Linked DNA regions of Homo sapiens: all the other regions are linked to region 3. Evidence: promoter capture Hi-C in human tissues and cell types (Jung and others, 2019). All regions are on one chromosome and are shown on one strand. Each heading gives the region's core, a stretch centred on a gene start or on the middle of the fragment in contact. The rest is flanking DNA. Distances are from core to core; before and after follow the strand shown.

Region 1 (3,710 bases), core at 85-2,584, 610 kb before region 3:
TGAGACAGAGTCTTGCTCTGTTGCCCAGGGTGGAGTGCAGTGGCGCGATCTGGGCTCACTGCAACCTCAGCCTCCCAGGTTCAAGCGATTTGCCTGCCTCAGCCTCCTGAGTAGCTGGGACTACAGCCATGTGCCACCACGCCCAGCTATTTTTTTTTTTTTTCCGTATTTTTAGTAGAGATGGGGTTTCGCCATGTTGGCCAGGATGGTCTCAATCTCTTGACCTCGTGATCCGCCCACCTCAGCCTCCCAAAGTACTGGGATGACAGGTGTGAGCTGCCGCGCCCGGCCTACTTTTTATATTTTAAAATGACAATATGGAGCAGACCATAACAGTTCTGCCAGTCTGGAATTTAGTCTAGGCAGGGAGTTTGGAAATAGTACAACAATGGTTAAGCTTATCGAAGGAGCTAAATGCCAGGCACTGTTCTACTTCACTTAATCCTCCAATTGCCCAATGAGATGAGTATTGCTATTATCATCCCTATTTCACAGATGAGCAAATTAAGATGAAAATAAGTTAATCAGTGTGCCTATTTTTATAGATTAGTAAGTGGCAGTGCCAAAAATTGGAATCCGTGGTCCCCACTCTTAGCTACCTTACTATACTACCTCTTGCCATTCATTCTTGGCTTCAGGGAGCTTTGAATTTATCTGCATGGATTTGTAGCCAAACCACTGGGACCACTGATCCTTTTGTTACCTTTCTCTGGGCCTCCTTCACCAGCTTCTGGGTCAACTTCTGAGGGGTCATGACGTTCGAACTGCTTGGAATTCCTGAATACAGTGCATTATACATATGCTCTACACGTATCTATTATAGCCTTACAAGTTGGAGTTGTTTGTTATCTATTTAATGTGTATTTGTTTTGTCTCCCCAACTAGACTGGAAACACCTAGAGGACAGGGACAGTATCTTTCTCTTTCTGCAATGCTCCCAGTGCCTGGGGGCTAGGCTAGGACGCCAAGGGAGCTCATTAAAAGTTGTTGACAGTCTCTCCACCATCCTGTGCCCCACCCCGACCACTCCCCTCTTCCTCGGTGGCCACTCCACTTCCTCCTCCCGGGTCCCCGCCCCTTCTCGCTCCCTTTAGTTGAATCCTCACTGGTCTCGCCCCTTCTTAGTGGATTCCATCCTGCCCCCGCCCCCCGCGGCATCTTCAGCGTCCCCTAGCGACGAGGCGGTGGCTCCTAGCAACTGCATCCCGGCTCCCTGACGACGGCGCCACGCAGGGACACGTCAGCGCGCTATGGCCCCGCCCCCGGCGCCCGCTGGTCCCGCCTCCCCGCGCCTCGTTCGCCGCCGCTGTCGCCGCCGCCGCCCGAGACTCGCGCAGAGCAGTTATGGCGGATCCCGCAGCCCCCACGCCCGCAGCTCCCGCTCCAGCCCAGGCCCCGGCTCCAGCCCCGGAGGCAGTCCCGGCCCCAGCCGCAGCCCCCGTCCCGGCGCCGGCGCCCGCCTCGGACTCGGCCTCCGGGCCGTCCTCGGACTCCGGCCCAGAAGCCGGCTCGCAGCGCCTGCTGTTTTCTCACGACCTGGTGTCGGGCCGTTACCGTGGCTCCGTGCACTTCGGGCTGGTGCGCCTCATCCACGGCGAGGACTCGGACTCGGAGGGCGAGGAGGAGGGCCGCGGGAGCTCGGGGTGCTCCGAGGCCGGGGGCGCGGGCCACGAGGAGGGCCGGGCCAGCCCCCTGCGCCGCGGCTACGTGCGCGTCCAGTGGTACCCGGAGGGCGTCAAGCAGCATGTGAAGGAGACCAAGGTGCGGCGGGCGGGGGCTGGGCGGCGCGGGCGGCAGGGGGTCGGCGGCCGGGCCGAGGCCAGGGAAGGACGGCGTGCAGGGCCCTGCCCGGAGCGGTGCCACTGCAGTGGCCGACGCGGGAGGACAGCCCCAGTGGAGGGTACACTCCATGCAAAGTCATTGCAGCAGCTCTGGGCGCACACGCCAGCCAGGCACTGCTGGCCCGGGACCGGGCGGGCCCTGGGCTTCCCGACTTGAGGGGACTTCTAAGACATGTTATGCTGTGGTGTCGGCCTCGAGATTTAGAGACGTGGACCGACTCCCGTGGGGACTCAGGTTCTGGGGCGCGTTCGGCGTTACACCAGTGCGGCGTTTTGCTGACCCCCAAGGAGCTCGGTACTGCATTGTGCATCCAGAAATGAAGGCCGTGCCGGGTCCGTGCAGGGAGGGGTTGTGGGCATTCCAAAACAAAGATAGAGGTGAAAATCCCAGCCGAACCCAAGAAGTTCACTAGCTTACAGGCTGCATTATGGTGAAGCCACCCAGCCTCTTTTTGTTTTACCCTGCTGCCTCCTTTTAATTGCTGCAGGGAACTTTGTGAGTAAAATCATTAGCAATCAGAGCCCCGGTATGAATAGTACTTGGGGGGGAGGATTCTGACAGCTGCGACCGGGATTGATGACTCCTAAGTGCATATGGACTCCTTGAAAAAAATAATCCAGAACCCTGGGTAGAGGGGAGTCACCAATTTGGAAACCCGAAGGTTTTTTCTTGACCTGAAGCTGTTAAGCAGACATCTGACTCCCGTATGGTTTTTGGGGTGATGCTAGTGAGTATAGCAGTTTTACAAAACAAAGAGGCTTGTCATCATAAACCCGAAACCTTGAACCCGGGTTGGTTTGGTGGCTTGTTTTCCAGAATGTGAATTCCTATCAGTAATTGACACACACACACACACACACACACCCCCCTGTATCTCACACCCCTTCTTTCTCTCCTACTTCCCCTCCCCTTCAAGAAAACATTTCTAAGCAGGAATCAGGCCTACGCTGTTTTAGGTCCTTGGGAGGTTGAGAGGTCTGATTTCAGGGGAGGGCACTTTGGAAGTTGATCTGGGTTTCTCACACAGTGGGAGACAAAGACTACAGAGGAACGGGGTTTCATGTCAAACTACAAAGCGGGGTCTGTGACAACGGCTTGAGAAGGAAAAAGGCCCCACTCCAGAGAAGAGCACATGATCCATTTCCTAGAGGCAGAAGTGACTGCTGATACCAGCGGGGTCTTTTTGTTGGGGATGCACATACATCCACAGACACAAATCCACACACAGGACCCTGCTTCCCCTCAGAGAAATGTGAATCAGGCAACAGCTCTGAGACTTGGAAGGAAAATTATCAGTCCATTTACAAGAGTATTTGGAAAATATTACTTTTGTGCAACAGAATGCTTGTTAAAAATTACCCAGTATTGTGTCAGTAAAAGAGGGTTATTGCTGTATACTGTGTGACACCAGATGATTGCTGGTGTCTTTCTGTGAGTTTTTAAGAATGTTTTTCACCACCCATCTATTTGAGAGATTCGTGATTTTTGGAACGCAACTCATTTGACTGCAGCATCCTCTGTGTTGTGGCCTCCTGCCCTAGGACTCAGGGAGGTAGGCCCAGCTCACTACTGGGAGCCGCTATGTTTATCAGTTGTTGTTCCCGTCCGTCTTGACTTTGGTGGTTAACTTTGTTTGCAGTTATGCTCCGTTTGCCTCCTGCACTATGTGTAATTATACAGAGTTTGACTTGAAATACCTATTTTGGAGTTAAATCGAAAACAACGGCCGGGTGTGGTAGCTCATGCCTGTAATCCCAGCACTTGGGAGGCCGAGGCGGGCGGATCACCTGAGGTCAGGAGTTCGAGACCAGCCTGACCAACATGGAGAAACCCTGTCTCTACTAAAAATACAAAATTAGCTGGGCTTG
Region 2 (3,692 bases), core at 1,146-3,645, 860 kb before region 3:
CTCGCGGGAGCAGGAGAGGCCTTTAGACAGTTCTGGAGCCGTCATGCACACTCAGTCAGTCCTGGCCTTACAGGGCTGGCCCTTTATCACCCACACCAGGCTCTGGACTGAAGTGCAAAATGTCCTTTAGCGGCGCCCTGTCTTAGCTCAATCCTGTGGGGCACAGCGCTTAAAGAACTTTCTACAAGGCTTTCGGCTCTCAGCACATGGTACCTACAGGAATAGGTTCAGTGGTGTTTAAATAGGGCCACTCGCATAATTTGCCACTGTCTGGGTGAATGCACGTCCTCTGAAGCTGAATGGGTGCTCTGAAGGACAAGGCAGTATGGGGGTTCGCGTGCCAGGCAGCCCCCATGACATAGGTGCCAGTGAGGATGACTTGAGGCTTGTGTCTGTCCTCCCGCTAAGGCACCCTCCAGAGAGAACCCACCCCACAGGAGAATTCAATTGAAGTCAGTGCCCTTCCCCTTTGGGTTCAAGTCCCCAGGCCTTCCTGAGCTGGCCAAAGCTCCCCCAAAACTCCTGCCTGCAAACATTAAGCCAGGTGCTGTGGGGACACAGATATTGTGTCATCCCACCCACTCCCAGTGGTGGCATTAACCTAAGAAGCTGCTTAGAAATTGTCTTGATGAGCTTCGAGTCAGTGACAAGAAAAAAAAGAAAGGAAAACAAATTGTCCTGAAGTGGACTCCAGCGTTTCCAAGAGCTTCCAGTGCTTTCTTCTGATGATCACACTGCTGGGGCTTGGAGGACAGATAGGGAGAAAGGCCCCCTGGGGAAGATAACTCAAATCAGGGTTGGGAAGTGGGGCTATGCCCTCTGCCAGCCTCCTTCTCCCTCCGTCCCTAAGCGAACCCCACCAACAGCGAGGGAGGAGGGCAACTCCACCTGCTGTTAGCTCGGAAGTCACTGCCCTGGGGAGCAGCGTGTAACTCACCTCTCCCCTCCCTCTTCATTTTCCATTAACTGCCTCCTTTCTAATCCAGTCCTCTCCCTTCCCAGGGAGGCCTGGGCGGGCTGGGGCAGCTGCTGCCTCTGACTACAAAGCTGATTATTGAGAAGGATCTCTCGCCCCGGGAAGCAGCCTTCAGCTGCTATTGGGGATCGCTCAGGAGCGTCCCCTAGTGCACGGTGCCCTCTTTGGCCAAGGACAAAGTAGTGGGGAGGGGCTACTATAGGCCGAGACCCTGGAAATGGACCAAAGAAATGGGGATGAGATCAGTGCAGCTCTTGCTTCCCCAGGGCAGCACAGGCCAGGGCAGGGAGGCTGAGGAGAAGCGGAATGATACTGCTAGAACCTCTTTTCTCTCCTAAGGATTAGCACAGGGTGGGCTGTGAGGAAGCATTATAGGCAAGGCCTGTTCACGCAAAGAATCATGAGCCAACGAAGTCAAGAACAGGAGCCGGCCTCTTTTCAGGCCAGGACTCAGGGCTTTCTTGGTGCTCCTGTGTAGGTTGGGGTTTTAGGATTGCCAGGCCTCTTACCTAATGGACTTGTGGATTGGAGCAAGGCTGGATGGTCGGATTCCCAAACATTGGTAATTGGCAAAGCGTCAAGGGTCATTTGAATAGCACTAGAGTTAAATTTCTTGTCTGTGCCAGGACTCAAGTATCTCGGTACTTGGGGCCTAGCTCTGCTCATAGACAGACTAGAGCCCGGGCGCGATGGCTCACACCTGTAATCCCAGCACTTTGGGAGGCCGAGGCAGGAGGATCACCTGAGGTCAGGAGTTCGAGACCAACCTGGCCAACATGGCGAAACCCCGTCTCTACTAAAAATACAGAAATTAGCCAGGCATGGTGGCGTGCACGTCATCCCATCTACTCAGGAAACTGAGGCAGGAGAATCACTTGAACCCAGGAGGCTGAGGTTGCAGTTGAGCCAAGATCGTGCCACTGCACTTCAGCCTGGGCAACAGAACGAGACTCCATCTCAAAAAAAAAAAAAAAAAAAAAAAAAAAAAAAGAGTAGGGACTTCCTGCAAGGCAGTGGGCCGGTGTCATGAAGCACACAGAGACTCTTCTAGATTTAATTGGGATTTAGGAGATTAAAGCAATATGACAAATAAATACAATCTTGATCCTTGATTGGATTCTCCATCAGAGAAGGGAGCTATAAAGGACATACTGGAGATAATTGAGACATTTTTTAAATGAATGGCTGTGTTAGGTAAGCTTATTGAATCAACGCTGAATTTTTTGTGTACGATACCGGCAGATGGCTGTGTAAACAATGTCCTTATCCTTAGGAAGATGCAGGCTGAAACATTTTGGGATGACATGTCATGATTCAAATAGTTACATGCACACACACACACAGTGTGTGTGTGTATAGAGAGAGAATGCAAAGATGGCAAAATGTTAACCATTGGTGAATCTAGGTGAAGGGTGTATGGTATTCATTGTATTATTATTTCAACTTTTCTGTAGGTTTGGAATTTTTCAAAAGAGAATGTTGGAACAAAGAAGCCAACATTCTTCTTTGGGAAATTTCTTGGGAAAGGGGTTGGTTTTTCAGACACTCTGGAGGTGGTGGTCTGAGTGGGTAGCACAGCCTTCATCTGTCTGTCTTAACCATGTGACTTGGCCCTGGTTCCCCTGAAGTCACCCTGCTGTCAGGTCCACCTGTGTCCTCTGCCCTCACCAACCTGTTCACCATAGGTGTGGGCTCTGGAAGCTACAGAGACCCCAGCCTTCCCAGAATGACCCAGGAGCAGGTGAACTTCCCCATCATCTCTCCTGCCTTTGTGATGGCAGTGTGGTCCTTTTTGATGGCAGTGTGGTCCTTTTTGATGGCAGTGTGGTCCTTTTTGATGGCAGTGTGGTCCTTTGTGATGGCAGTGTGGGCCTCTGTGACGGCAGCGTGGGCCTCTGTGACGGCAGCGTGGGCCTCTGTGATGGCAGAGTGGGCCTCTGTGATGGCAGCGTGGTCCTTTGTGATGGCAGCGTGGGCCTCTGTGACGGCAGCGTGGGCCTCTGTGACGGCAGCGTGGGCCTCTGTGATGGCAGAGTGGGCCTCTGTGACGGCAGAGTGGGCCTTTGTGATGGCAGCGTGGGCCTCTGTGATGGCAGCGTGGGCCTCTGTGACGGCAGCGTGGGCCTCTGTGACGGCAGTGTGGTCCTTTGTGATGGCAGCGTGGGCCTTTGTGATGGCAGCGTGGGCCTTTGTGATGGCAGTGTGGTCCTCTGTGATGGCAGTGTGGTCCTTTGTGATAGCAGAGTGGGCCTTCGTGATGGCAGTGTGGTCCTCTGTGATGGCAGTGTGGGCCTTTGTGATGGCAGTGTGGTCCTACTTTCTGTTCTCTTAGCAAAATCTCAGAAGCCAAGTAGTGGAGGGCCAAGTAGATATTTGCCAGTTGTTTATATCACTTTAGGTCCTTGTCTTTAAGCAGCTTAGGCTGATATATCAAAATACCACAGACTGGGTTGCTTAAACAACAGGCATTATTTCCTACACTTTTGGAGGCTGGGAAGTCCAAGATGGAGGTGTTGGCAGATTCTGGTTTTGGTGAGGGCTCTCTTTTTGGCCTGCAGACAGCCACCTTCTTGCTGTACTTTCACATGCCAGAGAGAGAGGGATGTCTCTTCCTCTTCTTATCAGGGCCCTCATAGCATTGTAGGGACTCCACCATCGTGACCTCGTCTAAATCTCACCTCCCAAAGACCCCCACCTCCAGATACCATCACACTGG
Region 3 (3,672 bases), core at 1,173-3,672:
ACCTTCTAATGCAAGTCTCTCCTTTCTCCCTTCTTTAGAGCCAGCCGCCGCCACCTCCCTACTACCCACCGGAAGATAAGAAGACCCAGTAGGCCCTCCTGCCTCCCTGCCTCCCACCCTCATCTCTCTACCCTACCCCTCCCATCGGGGCTGTGCTGGGGCTTGGGGAGGGGAGGGGGCGCCTTGTTCTCCCTCCAGGTCTGATCATAAACAATTACCAGGAACTAGCATTGTGGGACATTAGGGCCCCCGGCCTCGGGAGAGGTGCCGCCCAGCTTCCCATGCCAGCCCGGAGCCCACAGTGCTGCCCAGCGTACCTCCCTCACCGTCTGGGGCTCTTCTGGGAGCACGGAGCATCCCCTGTTCCTGTTTCACTCTCAGCTTCTCCCCTCGAAGGGACTCTCTGGCCACCTCCTCCACCGCAGTCCAGCTCCCTCAGTCTGGCACCCACTGCTACACTCAGCCTCATGAGCCACTTCAGACCAGCCAGGTGTCTTCCCGGGCCCTGCCAGACCCTGCTCACATTCCCTCTGCTGGTCTGTGCTGGTCTCAGAAGGCCACCGCGCCCGCATTCCACTCAGCCAGGGTCCAGCTGCAGCCCCCGCCACCCTTCCTTCCCTTCCCTGTCCTGGGTCATGTTGTTGCCACCCTGTGTGACTTTTGAAGCTGTAAAATGAGCTTCCAGGGCTTGGGTGGCGTCGGGGCAGGGCCGCCGAGGCTGGGAGGAAGCCCTTCTGCCTTTTGCTGGTGTTTCTGGAATTTGCTTTCCCTCACCTCTCACTTCCTTCTAGAAGGAGCTTCCTGACTGGAACCAGAGAATGCATGTCTGTCCACTTGGTGGCTGCTGGGTGGGGCCGGGAACAAGGGCCCCTGACCCTGTGTGCTGGCCGGGACCTGCCACCAGCCCCCCAGCCTGCTTCTTCCCCTTAAGCTTTGTGCCCCTGGATGCGCTAACATTCACTCTTGTTTGTCCCTGGACTGGCCATGAAGTGAGGAGATGGTTATTTAAAGAGAATTCCCTATTTATTTGACAAAAAATCCAGTTAATATATTAATGTGAAATAAACCCTGTTTGCACCTCGATTTGTTTGCTGAAAATGTGAAATAGTAAAAATGAAATAACTGGACCCTTTCTGGCTCTGCGTGTGGTGACCCGGGGGTCTCTTCCGGAAGGAGAGCCGTCTGGCCGCTGAGGGCCCTGGAGACTTCTGGGACGGTTCCCTCCCATGGGAGGATCCCCATTCTCACGGCCCAGCCAGCCTGTCTGGTCCCCAAGACAGCTCTGGCCTCTGGAGCTGGTTCTTAACGGTTGTCGCTCAGCAGCTGTGTCCCTCCCCCACTGAGTCCCCAGGGCCTGGCTGGGACAGAGGTGGATGTGGCCCAGAGTTGGCCTTGAAGGGAGGAGTTGGGGCTGCCACCTTGTCCCCTGCTGGCTCCTCGAGGAATGGCAGCCCTGGCCTAAGTCCTGGTTGCTGGAGGGAGGAGGCCGAGTCAGCCCTGGAGCACGTCAGGACCTGTGACAGGGACACTGAGGTAGCCAAGCCGGCTTGCCACCACCCACGTCACGTGCCCTGCTGTGAACTTGAAGGGACAGGAGGGTGGGAAATGGCCAAAGGCCGTGACCAGGCCCACACGCCCGCAAGTCCCCCAGCCCAGCACTGGGCACAGGGTGGGCAGGCCACAGAGCTCTAGGAAAGCCCCATGCTGAGGCGCATTTTCCTGTCCCCCGGGAGCCAAGTCTGTCCTCAGGAGAGATCGGGCAGCAGCCCCTCTGCCTCCTCCTCCTGGCCAGCCTGGCCCAGAGCTCTCTGGGACTTGGCTAAGCCCCCTTCAAGGGTGTCTGAAGGGAGCACTGTCCTGACTGCCAAGGTGGGGGCAGGGGCACAGGGCTGTCCCTGCCCAGCACAGCTTGGCCCCGTCATCTCCAAGGAATGTCACCTGTGGGGCCAGGCAGGCTGAGCAACTGGCTGTCCTCCAGGGAGACGCCTCTTGGGAGCCCCCACCCTGGGCGCCACCACACCCCACCCCACCCCGCCCCGCCCCACGTCTGGACGCACTCGAGGAAGTGGGGTGAGAACCCCCCCGGGCCCAGGTCAGCTTCTCTCAGGGTTCAGCCCAGCCTGGGCACAGCACATGGATGGGGCAGGATGCTGCCCGCCTGTTCTGGGCCCCCCCGCCCCCTGCTGAGAGCGTTGTCCCCTTCCCAGGGCCTCTGTAGGAGGGTGGGGCGGGGCCAGGCCTGCCCACGGGGTCCACCTTCTGCTCCAGCCAGAGGAGGGTCCTGTAGGGATCCCAGCTGGGGAAGGTGCAGGGGGCCTGGGAGACTGCCTCTCCGAAGCGGTGAAACCCTCACCCTTCCGTCCCTCCCAGCCACCCTCCCTAAAACTTCCCCTGACAGAGGGTGGCAGCCCCAGGCTCTTTGCATAATCCTGTGGCTTCGCTGTCTTCACCCAGCACCAGCGGACAGGGAAGGGCAGAGAAGGCCACCATGGCGACACTCCTCTCCCATCCGCAGCAGCGCCCTCCCTTCTTGCGCCAGGCCATCAAGATAAGGCGCCGCAGAGTCAGAGATCTACAGGATCCCCCGCCCCAAATGGCCCCGGAGGTAGGAGTGACCTCACTGGGGAGAGAGCTGGCCTTGGGGAGCACTGTGGTCTCGGGTACGGGTGCCCTGCTGTCTGGCCCCACCTCTCGAAGGCTGGGACTGGGGACCAGCGACCCTCCCCTGCCTACTCCACCCTGGGGAGAGCCCCCTGGGCCAGCAGAGCAGGGGCTGCCAGATGGACTCTGGGCCACTGTGGGCCTCAGGCCCTGTGGTCTGAGGCTCTCAGAACCCCTCCCTCCCGGTTGGCCTGACCCCATCCCCTACTCCTCCAGCTTCAGAAGAGCCGACTCCATTAGGTGGGGGTGTCCCTGCTGTGGGGTGAGCTGTTCGGGGAGCAGCAGACCCCCAGGCCGACGTGGCACCCCCCTCACCTCCGCTGCCGAGCCTCACTTCCGCTGCTGGGTGAGGAGCAGCCGCCACTGATAAGCAGAGCTGTTTCCTCTGGGGAAGGGAGGGAGGTGGGGTGCGGGTGCGGAGGGCTCGCGCTGCTGGGCACCCATGGACCTCAGCCACGGCGGGCCCAGGGACGGACCTCCAGGAGGCCTGCTGGGGGAACAGGTGCGGGGCATCACTGGGGCTGGAGGCCGGGGTGCTGGGGCCCCCATACCCTTGGCCTGGATCAGGCCTCAGAGGAGCCATTCCTGTCCATCTGAGCCTGCTCTGGGCCTCCCGGGACACTGCCTTTCCACCTTGCTCTGCAGATCCAGCCTCCATCCCACCACTTCTCCCCCGAGCAGGTAAGAGTCAGAGTGCTGGGGTGCAGAGAGGTGGGGAGGGCGGCTGTGTGTCCTCCTGCCGGCCGACGCTGATGGCAGCAAGCAACTTGCGGTGGGGAGGGGACTCCTGGGTCTCAACTCCCTCCGCTGCACAAGCCGCCCTTGTCCTGCCCATGGCGAGAGGTGTTGGTGCCAGGGGTGGCTGGTGGGGTCCCCAAGGTGACCCCGTGTGTCTTAGCGGGCCCTGCTCTACGAGGACGCACTCTACACTGTCTTGCACCGCCTGGGTCATCCTGAGCCCAACCATGTGACGGAGGCCTCTGAGCTGCTGCGATACCTGCAGGAGGTGAG

What was found. Contacts are between HindIII fragments. The study calls those that stand out against the background at their distance.
Region 1: the fragment with the promoter of UBE2O here is called in contact with the fragment with the promoter of UNC13D in region 3 in 1 of the 25 tissues and cell types used here (psoas muscle).
Region 2: a contact is called between a fragment that was not itself captured here and the fragment with the promoter of UNC13D in region 3, in 1 of the 25 tissues and cell types used here (hippocampus).

Annotation. Positions count from the first base shown.
Region 1 is chr17:76,450,776-76,454,485 of GRCh38, reverse strand. It overlaps UBE2O (ubiquitin conjugating enzyme E2 O), which reads left to right and starts at 1,334. Exons shown (of 18, transcript NM_022066.4): 1 at 1,334-1,761. The coding sequence starts at 1,345. It also overlaps a transcript of AANAT not described here. RefSeq lists silencers at 1,160-1,328, 1,123-1,662, 1,783-1,982. The HindIII fragment of the contact is 12,276 bases long and covers 1-3,710 here.
Region 2 is chr17:76,705,566-76,709,257 of GRCh38, reverse strand. The region is part of intron 1 of MXRA7 (matrix remodeling associated 7); the gene reads left to right. Among named protein-coding and RNA genes, the nearest start is that of MXRA7, 3.6 kb to the left of the region's middle. The HindIII fragment of the contact is 4,690 bases long and covers 51-3,692 here.
Region 3 is chr17:75,843,154-75,846,825 of GRCh38, reverse strand. UNC13D (unc-13 homolog D) reads left to right here and starts at 2,422. Exons shown (of 32, transcript NM_199242.3): 1 at 2,422-2,605; 2 at 3,307-3,342; 3 at 3,560-3,667. The coding sequence starts at 2,489. WBP2 (WW domain binding protein 2) reads left to right here. Exons shown (of 8, transcript NM_012478.4): 8 at 39-1,127. The coding sequence ends at 92. RefSeq lists enhancers at 1,483-1,572, 1,703-1,782, 2,201-2,905 and silencers at 2,013-2,172, 2,183-2,242, 3,093-3,152. The HindIII fragment of the contact is 8,770 bases long and covers 1-3,480 here.